Regions from separate parts of the Homo sapiens genome. Here region 2 is linked to region 1. Evidence: promoter capture Hi-C in 16 types of primary human blood cells and fetal thymus (Javierre and others, 2016). All regions are on one chromosome and are shown on one strand. The core of a region is centred on a gene start or on the middle of the fragment in contact, and the rest is flanking DNA. Distances in the headings are between cores, read along the strand shown. Region 1 holds the start of ODAD2 (outer dynein arm docking complex subunit 2). Region 2 holds the start of MPP7 (MAGUK p55 scaffold protein 7).

What was found. The method cuts DNA at HindIII sites, captures the fragments that hold promoters and counts their contacts. A CHiCAGO score of 5 or more calls a contact.
Region 2: a contact is called between the fragment with the promoter of MPP7 here and the fragment with the promoter of ODAD2 in region 1, in 5 of 17 cell types (endothelial precursors, naive CD8 T cells, M2 macrophages and 2 more). The highest score is 8.4, in endothelial precursors.

The regions. Positions count from the first base shown.
Region 1 is chr10:27,996,999-28,001,710 of GRCh38, forward strand. ODAD2 (outer dynein arm docking complex subunit 2) reads right to left here and starts at 2,081. Exons shown (of 20, transcript NM_018076.5): 1 at 1,996-2,081. The HindIII fragment of the contact is 2,296 bases long and covers 1,047-3,342 here.
Region 2 is chr10:28,300,949-28,305,660 of GRCh38, forward strand. MPP7 (MAGUK p55 scaffold protein 7) reads right to left here and starts at 2,116. Exons shown (of 17, transcript NM_001318170.2): 1 at 1,913-2,116. MPP7-DT (MPP7 divergent transcript) reads left to right here and starts at 2,221. Exons shown (of 2, transcript XR_930772.3): 1 at 2,221-3,481; 2 at 4,451-4,712. RefSeq lists a silencer at 1,663-2,302. The HindIII fragment of the contact is 2,637 bases long and covers 398-3,034 here.

The sequences.
Region 1 (4,712 bases), core at 831-3,330:
AATCTATGATATTGATTTCAGGATAGCAAAGCAGCCTTACAACATATATGCTATAAAAACCAAGTACTGGATCAGATAGGGTGGAGAACAACTGATCCAGACATATATACCAAAGTGGTCATGAAATAAAGTGCAGAAATTAGTGCACAAATTTGTTCTGGGTGTTTGTTTTAGTATTCTAGCATTTTGTTTCTATTGCTAACCGATGAGAAATGCTTTAGATTTAAACACATAAACATGTTCTGATGTGTATGTGTGAGACTCTTGAATTTCCCATTGTTGTGTAAAATAAGTGCAAATCAGTGTAAAATAGTGTGAAATAAGTGCAAATAGCTTTATCTTATACAGAAAGGCTTAGGTGAAAGTTCTGTCTGTCTTTAATCTTAAGTATAACATTTGTTTTGGTAATCTTATAAAGATTGCTTCTTGCACATTTTTAAAGAAAAAATGCGAAATTAAATAGATTATGTAACGCTATGGTAGTCAACATACCATATAGTAACTTCTTGAAGGACCCTTAACACAGAATTAAGAAATGCAAAATCGTTATTTTCGTCAAGATAAATTTTGACAGAAATGTAACATTTGAATCTATTCAAATTGTATTTCCAAGTCTAGTGAACCGTAGCAATGCACAAGTTTTATTCAAGAAGGTTGGTGAGTTTAAGAAAACCTCAGGGTGGCCTATGACAATCCAGAAGGCAAGATCAATGTTATTAGAAAATAAATAAATAAATAAATGGTGTTCAAAAATGGTCGGCATAACTCAAAACTAAGATTTTAAAATCAAGACCAGTTGCTCCCCGGTTTCTGCCCATTGCCAAGCTCTTTTGGCTTAAGAACCATAGTTAAAATGAATCCATGTAAATACACAGCACACACCTTTGAAGTAAAGAAAGTAAGTTTAAAGATTAAAAGGAAAAAAGTTTTGGTTACGTGTTTACATAAACTGGGATGTTTACATAAACTGGGAATCACTTAGCACTCATTTTTCTCTTTATCCAATAGATACCACAGATTGTTTTTCTTTCTAAAGGTCAATTTCAAGCTTCCAGCATCATTAGTGAAATGAAACCCATTCGGTAATCACATCGTTAACACTTAAACAGAAGCACAACCGAATTCTTTAGGGGGCTACGGAAAGGCAGCCATCAGCTCTGAGATCTATGAAATGTGGTTGGTAACATCCACGGGGAGTCCGCGCATACACTGCTTTCTGAGAATGCAGAAGTTACTCAGTAAGACCGACAGAAAATCGAACTTTTAGACATGACATGAACAGGGCCCTAAGTAAAACCAAAGCTAAGCCTAGTGTGGGATGACGGCCCCCACCAGACTCGTTACAAGAAGGGGGCGTCAGAGCTGAGACCCTAAGTTTCCAGGAATGGATTCGGTAAGGGGACGAGGAGGGAAGGGACGGCGAAAACCACGCTGGGAGCGGGAGGCAGAGCTGCAAAGGGCGGAGGAGAAAGACGGGCTGGGGGAAGGAGAGGCAGGGAAGCGGCGGGAGAAGTGGAGAGCGGATCCGGGAGGTGATGGGGCCGAGGTAGTGCAGAGAGGGGCGCAGGGACTGAGGAGCAGACGGTCCCCAACCTAGGGCCGAGGCAGGGTCTCGCGGGGAGGAAGGAGTGAGATGGGGCTGGGAGAGAGAAGGGAAGGGGGCGGGTCTTGGTCCCCGGGAGGGAAAGGGGAGCAGGCGAGAGCGGCAGCGGCGGGGCCAGAGAGCCGCCTCTGTTTCCCGATCCACGCGGGCGGCTGCAGAACCCCTGCGGGGGTGAGCGTGGAGACCCCCAGCCGCACTCACCTGCAGCACCCTGCCCCCCGCAGTCGGCGCCCGCCTGTTGCTAGGACGCGGGTCAACACTGCGCGCCCTGCGGCCGCGCACGCCGGCGCCCTTGTGGGAGGCCTACAGGGCCCGTGCCCTCCCCCGGGCGCCGCCGCCGCCGCCTTCCGCTCCCAGCCTCACCCGGCCGCGACCGCAGCCCAGTCCGTTACCCTGGTCTCGGGACCTCCGCGCATCCAAGATTCCCGCGGACCCGTTGCACCGTATGCCCGCGCCAGAGACGCTCTGCGCCCGCGCTGGGTTCCACCCGCCCCGGCCACCTGCTGCTTTCCGCTCGGCCCCTCCCGGGAAACACTTTTATTCAACTTTGCATCTCCCTTTCTCAAACACTTTTATGCAACTCCCGAGTGTGCACCCTAACTCACTCCACGCGGTGGGAAAGGTTGACTTTGACAGAGGTCGTGAGCAGTTGCGGGGTCGGCGGCAAGTTAGCAGAAAACTTAAAATGGAGCAGAAAGGAAGCAGAAAATATTCCTTAGAAACCCCTTTTTACATTTTTCCATAGGCTTCCAGACAAGTGCGTTGTATGTACCTGAAATCTTCACTGAGTACCCCCAAATAGCATAGGGCTTCTCCTAGGATATTTGAGGCTTACATGTTTCTCTCCAAAAAAACAAATATGGTAGAATACTCTGATACTCACCGGGAAAGCAGAAAGCGCTCTTCAATAGGGCAGAGGATCGGAGTGAAATGAAAACATGTCCCCCATCTCTTTTTTTAAATGGCCTTTACCTTTGTCCATTAAGATGGTTTTGACCCCACCTCTAGACACCCTACCAGCAAGAGCCCCAACTGGAACACCAGTGAGGGATAAAGGAGTGGGAATATTGAGGTGGGGGGGGATGGGGAAGAATGCACTATCTTGGGGTGGGGGGACACGGTGTTTAAGGACCAATGCCGGAGCACTTAGGATGATGGGGTGTTTAGGAATTAAAACTGGATTCTTTTCCGGATGCCAAAGAGGCAAATGTGGAATGATGTTAGGATATCACCTGTCATAATATTATACGGATTCAGCTCAAAGCAGAACCTTTCTGCAAACACGTAGGGATATGAGGTATAGATATTTGTCCTTTGTTTTGGGTTTTTTGGAGGGTGGGGGACGAAGTCTGGCTCTATCACCCAGGCTGGAGTGCAGTGGCACGATCTCGGCTCACCGCAACCTCTGCCTCCCATCTCGGCTCACCGCAACCTCTGCCTCCCGGGTTCAAGAGATCCTCCCCCCTCAGCTTCCTGAGTAGCTGGGATTACAAGAATGCGCCGCCATGCCCGGCTAATTTTTGTACTTTTAGTAGAGACGAAGTTTCACCATGTTGGCCAGGTGGGTCTTGAACTCCTGACCTCAAGTGATCCACCCACCTCGGCCTCCCAAAGTGCTAGGATTACAGGCATGAGCCACCATGCCTGGCCTGTTTTGGGTTCTTTTCTTCTCTTTTTGAAAGTGCGAAAGTTGTTAGGAATGGAATAGTTTCACCTAAAGGAGATACTACCTGCAGAGAAGCTTAGACTTGCAACCAGTGAGAAAGGGGCTTATGCTAATAGGTATACAGAGAAGCCCTTTTAAAAATGGGTGGATTACAGTCTGAGACAACAGCATCACACCTGTGGCGGTAATGCAGGTCACAACCTGGTGAGGAGCAGAGGGCATCCTTCGGAAGGATCCTGGAGTAGTCCCAGTCCTGGAAGCAAGGAAGCTTCTGTGGGTACTTTAGTTCCTCTGCACATTTTAATCAGCTGTATGACATAAGGGAGCATTACTGGGTCCAATGTGGATGCCAGCCAGAGATCTTCCAAGTTCAGGACATTTCACCTTGGTTTGCAAAGCTGGAAAAAGCCAGAACCCACCAAGATCTGAGCAACTATGTCGTTGTTTGCCAAATTCATGCCAAGTTGCTTAATCTGATGCCAAAATGTGAATTTATTTTACCGGATATTTTCCAAGCAAAAATAACTTAATAATATTTAAATCTGAAGAAGTCCCAGTCGCCTCTTTCCAATTTTTCCTTGTCGTGATGAAACACTACCTGGGCCCAGTCACTCCCTGAAGGATTTATCATGACTTGTTTTTTTTTTTTCTTTTTTTTTTTTTTGAGACGAGGTCTCATTCTGTCACCCAGGCTGGAGTGCAGAGTGCAGTGACATAATCATAAGCATAGCTCACTGCAGCCTCTGATTCCTGGGCTCAAGTGATCCTCCAGCCATGGCCTCCGAAAGCACTGGGATTACAGCCATGAACCACTGTGCCTGGCCATAACTTGTCTTTGCCTTGTTGCCCATCTGCTACCCCTACAAGGTAAGCTTTATGAAAATAGGGAGCTTTTCTGCCTCCTTCAAGTCTGTACTCCTAAGATCTAGAAGGATGACTGGCACGTAGAAGGAGCTAAATTCATGAATCGCCTAGTCAAAGATGCCTTGCTTCCTGACACTCTTCACCAAGCACCAGAAAGGCAAGGCCCACATTTTCTTAGGGTTAATAGAACCAGCCTGAGGATTCTAAGTAGCCGTGATCTTGGAAAGAGCCTTCATCACTGAGGGCACACCCGGGGTTTGCTGTACCAGAGGCCTTTACCAGCCCTGCCCATGGCTAGAGTGCAAGCACATGGTGCAGCGCTGTCCACTGAAACTTTAGAGAAAATCTGCCACAGGCTCCTGGGAAAAACTTGATAGTTTTTGGTCCACCTCCGCAACATTACGTCATCTACAGCAGGGACCCCACCCACACGCCACACCTTCTGTCAGATCAGCAGTGGCATTAGGTTCTCATAGAAGCATGAACCCTATTGTGAACTGTGCATTCGAAGGATCTAGGTTACAAGCTCCTAATGGGAATCTAATGCCTGATGATCTGTCCCTGTCACTCATCCCCCCC
Region 2 (4,712 bases), core at 866-3,365, 300 kb after region 1:
GAAAAAAAAAAAAAAAGAGTTCCATTCAGTAATCCATAAGACATTTTCATGTTCCTGATAACTAGTAAATTTAACAAAACCTAACGATTCTCTAGAATTCCCTAAGCCTTAACATCATACAAGCGGCTACTCCCAACTACCCATTTCAGCCTGTCCCACACTAATGCCCAAACTCCTTTGGTCAAGTTATTCTAATTAAGAAATTATTCTTCAATCCGTCTATAAATTTACAGTAAACACTTCCCGAAACAAAGTCATAAGTCATGATCAAAATGCATTACACTTCATTAGTATTTTCCTTCTGCATATCAATTATTTCTATTCAATTCAAAAAAAGGTACCGAAATTCAATGCTGAGCTAGAGATGCAAACACAAATAAGGTTCTCTAATTTGGAAAGCTTCCCAAAATTTAAAATAGAGATTTTCACACAGCATTCCTAACTTTTGTTTGTTTTGCCTGTGTGGAAAATTACCTTTCACCTGAAATTCAAACTAGCTAAGCAACCTGAATGGAAAGAAAAACCTCGCAGATAATATTTCTTTACTTGAAAATAACCATCTCCACCTCTGACCTGTGTATACGGGATCAAATTGGTATGCAGAAGTTGGCTTGATGGCGGGAATCTTACCCAGATTTTGGATTAAATCCATTATAGGTATAAAATAAAGTAGGAGTAAAGTGGGGCAGGATTCCTTTCATTTCTAGGGCTTTCAGTTGACATACCTGTAAAATGGACATGCTATGCACAGCCTGCCTCAGAAGAGTAGGAGGATGGCATACTATATAATTGATAGAGTGCTATGAGCTTCACGATTAAATGGAAATACTGTTTTTATAGAACCAGAGTGAACCTGAGCATAGAAAACTCTCCAAGGGCCATCGCTGTGACATTACCGCTAAAACTCAGTGACCTTCATCAATTCACTTGTAAACAAGCAATATATTGAGCAAGTCAAAGGAAAGGCAGCAACAATTCAAGATACTTCTTTATAAGTAAATCAAATTACGTAATTAATAGCCCAGGATTTACCTGCAAACTATTACTGCCTGACTAGCAGGTGCATCCCCAAAGCCTCGAGTACAGAGACTGTTTTTAGAGAGCCCCCCCTTTTTTAAATGTGAATATTGCTTTTAAAAATTAGAAAAAGAAAAAAATCACAATTCTACTCCCACCCATGGCACAGTGACAGAAACAAGGTCCCACCCCCACAATCCTTTCAAACCTGCACAGGCATTCCTCACGAACACTCCTCCCCCTCATTCCTACCTCACCGCTCCCCACTTCAGCCCAGACAAAGCTGAGTTACTCGGCTGGGTCTACCTGTCACTTAAGAAAAAGCCCCCAAATAGATTCACGCTAAATGCTGCTTTTAATTTTTTAAATAGCAAATAAGTAAATAAATAATGCTATCGTGTAGATTACACGGCCAAACGCCTGTTCTCAGAAAACATGTAATTAACACGACCCAAGTGAAGACGCCTTTCTGGCTTAGGGAAAGAAAAAAAAGAAGCCAGCCAGCTTATCGCTCCCTTTCAGTCGGTTCTTTTCCCCGGGGAGCCGGACTCTGACTCAACTCCGCAGTTTTTCCTCCACCTGTCGGTTCTCCCCGCTCTGGGTCTGCCCCGCCGCCGCCCCCGCCCGGAGTCCCGCGCGTCAACAGGGGTCTCCAGGGGTCCTCAGGGTCCCGCCCGAGGCGGCCCCGCCCCTGCCCCGGCCCCGCCCCCACCTCCTCACAAGGTGCCCGCCGCGGGCTCCCAGGCTGAGGCGCCTAGAGGCCGGCAGGAGGCTCCGGAGGACCGCGGCACCGCTCGGCCCGGTCGCCGGCGCAGGGAGCAGCTTCGGGGGCCGACCCCACCGCCCGAGCCTAGCCCTGGGCTCCGACAGGCGCTCCCCAGAGGCGCCCCATTACCTGCTCTGGGCTGCCGCGGTCCGCGGGCAGGAGGCGCACTCGCTCTGGCCCCTGCAGCCCCGGGCCCGGAGGCAAGGAGGCAGCGACCGCCACCGCCGCAGAGGACAATCGGGAGCCAGCGGGCTCGGCACCGCCGCGGCGGGCGCAGAACGCACGAGCCCAGTGGGAGCCCGGCCCCCGCCTCCAGCCCGGCTAGTAACCAACACGGCCCCCACCCTCGGAGGGGCGGGACCGCGGTTGGAGGGGCGGGGCGGGGCTGCACCGCCCGCGGGTAAGAGGGGCCTGCTGATAGGCTGCGAAGGCGATAGGCGTCTCAGACTTGAAGACGCCTCTCCAGCAGAACTCCCTCATTGGTCGGCAAGAGAAAACAAAGCTGGGCTCTGATTGGTGACAGCTCTGTAGCTCCTCCTCATACCCGCAGTCCCCGCAAGTTCCACCCCTGCCCGCCCGGTTCGCTCGCCCTTGGTTCCCACTCCCAGGTGGCTGCAGACTGGAGTGTGTTTCATGGACGAGCAACCTCCCTGAGGAGAACCCCGGATACGCAGGTTCATTCGCCAGATGCGAGTTTTCTTAAGCCGCTGCGATTCTCTGATTTCAGTATGAACTTGGTGAATAACGTAATCTTTAACTTCCTTTGGATTCAGACAAGTCTCCTAGGTTTAAAAATGCTGCATAAGATTGAGAGGGATATTGTTATGCACGAAAAAAGACATAAGGTGTTTTCACCTTTGGCGACACTGTAGGTGACTTTTTCTTATTACCTTTTTGTGTTCCATATTGAACATGTACTACATGATTAGAAAAAAAAATTCTTAAATAGAAAAATGAGTAGGGTGCGGAGAATGGTAAAGACAAACTTTAAGGAAATCCAGAGAACTGATTCTTTCACAATAGAAGAAAATACAGTAAACATGCTTAATATCTGAGGGCTACCCCGAAAAAACATGAACTGGTATCAGCGCCCTTCAGCTCTCTTAAAGAACTTTACATATGTGACCGAGGTGCCCCCATACTCCTTCCTATCATGTAACCAACACATAATGTGGACAGCACTACACTGCAAACAGAATTACAGGAAGACTCTTATAGGAAGAATTAGAATCCAAAGTACACAATCAATAAAGCTTTAGAAAAAGGGGTAGTAAAAAGCAGAAGACAAAAAAAAATCAGGTAATATAAATTGGAAAGCTCAGCTGATGGAGGGAATCATCAGAAAAAAAATAATGTGACAACACTTCAAGATGTGATAGAGACTTTGAATGGAAAGCTGAAGGGAGAGGAAGGGGATTGAGATAAGGATCAATGACCTGCAGTTAATATGAGCTCTCAGAACACATCCCCCAGAACTGGTGTCAGCCTAGAAGGCAAGAAGCATTTCTCACCTAGGGACCACTCTCACTTAACTCTCTCTAGCTGCCTTAACATTCTGTTTGTTCTTGTCATTCTCGCAAAGTTCTAAAACAGGCTATTTGAAATTAAGCACTTCCCCCCAGCAACTCCGTGAATTACGTAATAGTGAAAAATGGAGATAGACAAAAAGCAAACCTGAGGAAGGAAAGGAATGTTAAGGTAAACATAAACTTAAAGAGAAGTAAGGGCAAAACACCTGATAGAAAGAAGACAAGAAATTCTTTTTTCTCTCTTACTTCCTGAGAATAAAGTAAAGGTCTTTGGAGGACAGAATAACCTTATTGCCTAACAAAAAGAGTTTTTACCAAACCTTTCTAATAATAACTGTAATTCTAAACTGTAGTCTAAAAATACGTGTCCTAAAGTAAGTACTTTGAGCAAATAGTTTTGAGATCTAATATTTTTACATTGTGTAAGGAAAAGAAGAGGAACTTAGCCTAGTATGAACAAACTGTAGGGAATACCCTTCAAAAGTTTCTTCTACAATAACACCTGAAATTCCATCACTAACATTCTTTCACTGGGATTAAATAATGTATGTCTAAGATTATTCTTTTATTCATTTACTCATCAAACGTAATCAATATTAATCATCAAATACTAGATACTGCAATGAACGAGGCTTTCTACTAAGCACTCAGAGTATAGCCTTGAACAAGACAGACTTGCAGCTGTTTTTATCAGAAGATGGACAATGATCCAATAAAAAGATAAACTTCCAGACCGGGATCAGGGCAAAGAAGAAAACAGTGACCAGAGGGATGGGAGACACACTTAATTTTGGGAAAGGAGAAAAATGCTTTAAGGAGAAATGATCTAAGAGAAATGCTCTAAGATTTGAGGCACCACCTAAATAAGAAAACACCAACTTAGCAAAACTCCAGGGCAGATAAAATAGCAAGAACAAAGGACTTGAAGTAGGAAGAAAAGTGATGTATAGCAGGAACAGAGAGAAAGCCAGCATGGGTATCATGGTGCATAAGGAGAGTGCTACTAGACAGGTTGGAGAAGGAGGTGAGGACCTCGTAGGCAATGGTAACTTTGTATTTTGTTACAAGGATTCCTGACGGGCAACATCGAGTTGCTGATAGTGGAGTAAAATCATTATTTTTTTTTTTCCTTTTTCAGAGTCACCAGTAAAATGAGCATTCATTCATTAAGCCAATCATCAGGAATGGATCTAGGAAGAACCTACTGTTTACTAGAAATAGGTTAGATCTGTGGATATAACAATGAATAAGACAAGACTGGTGGATCTATAGAGAAACTATTACTGCACAGGTGATGGGGAAATCAAGAGTACTATGGGGCCAAGGAGACTGTCCTGCAGCAAATGAGGAATAAGCTGAAACATCAGTAGGAGCCATCCCAGAGAAAAGGGACAGGGTTC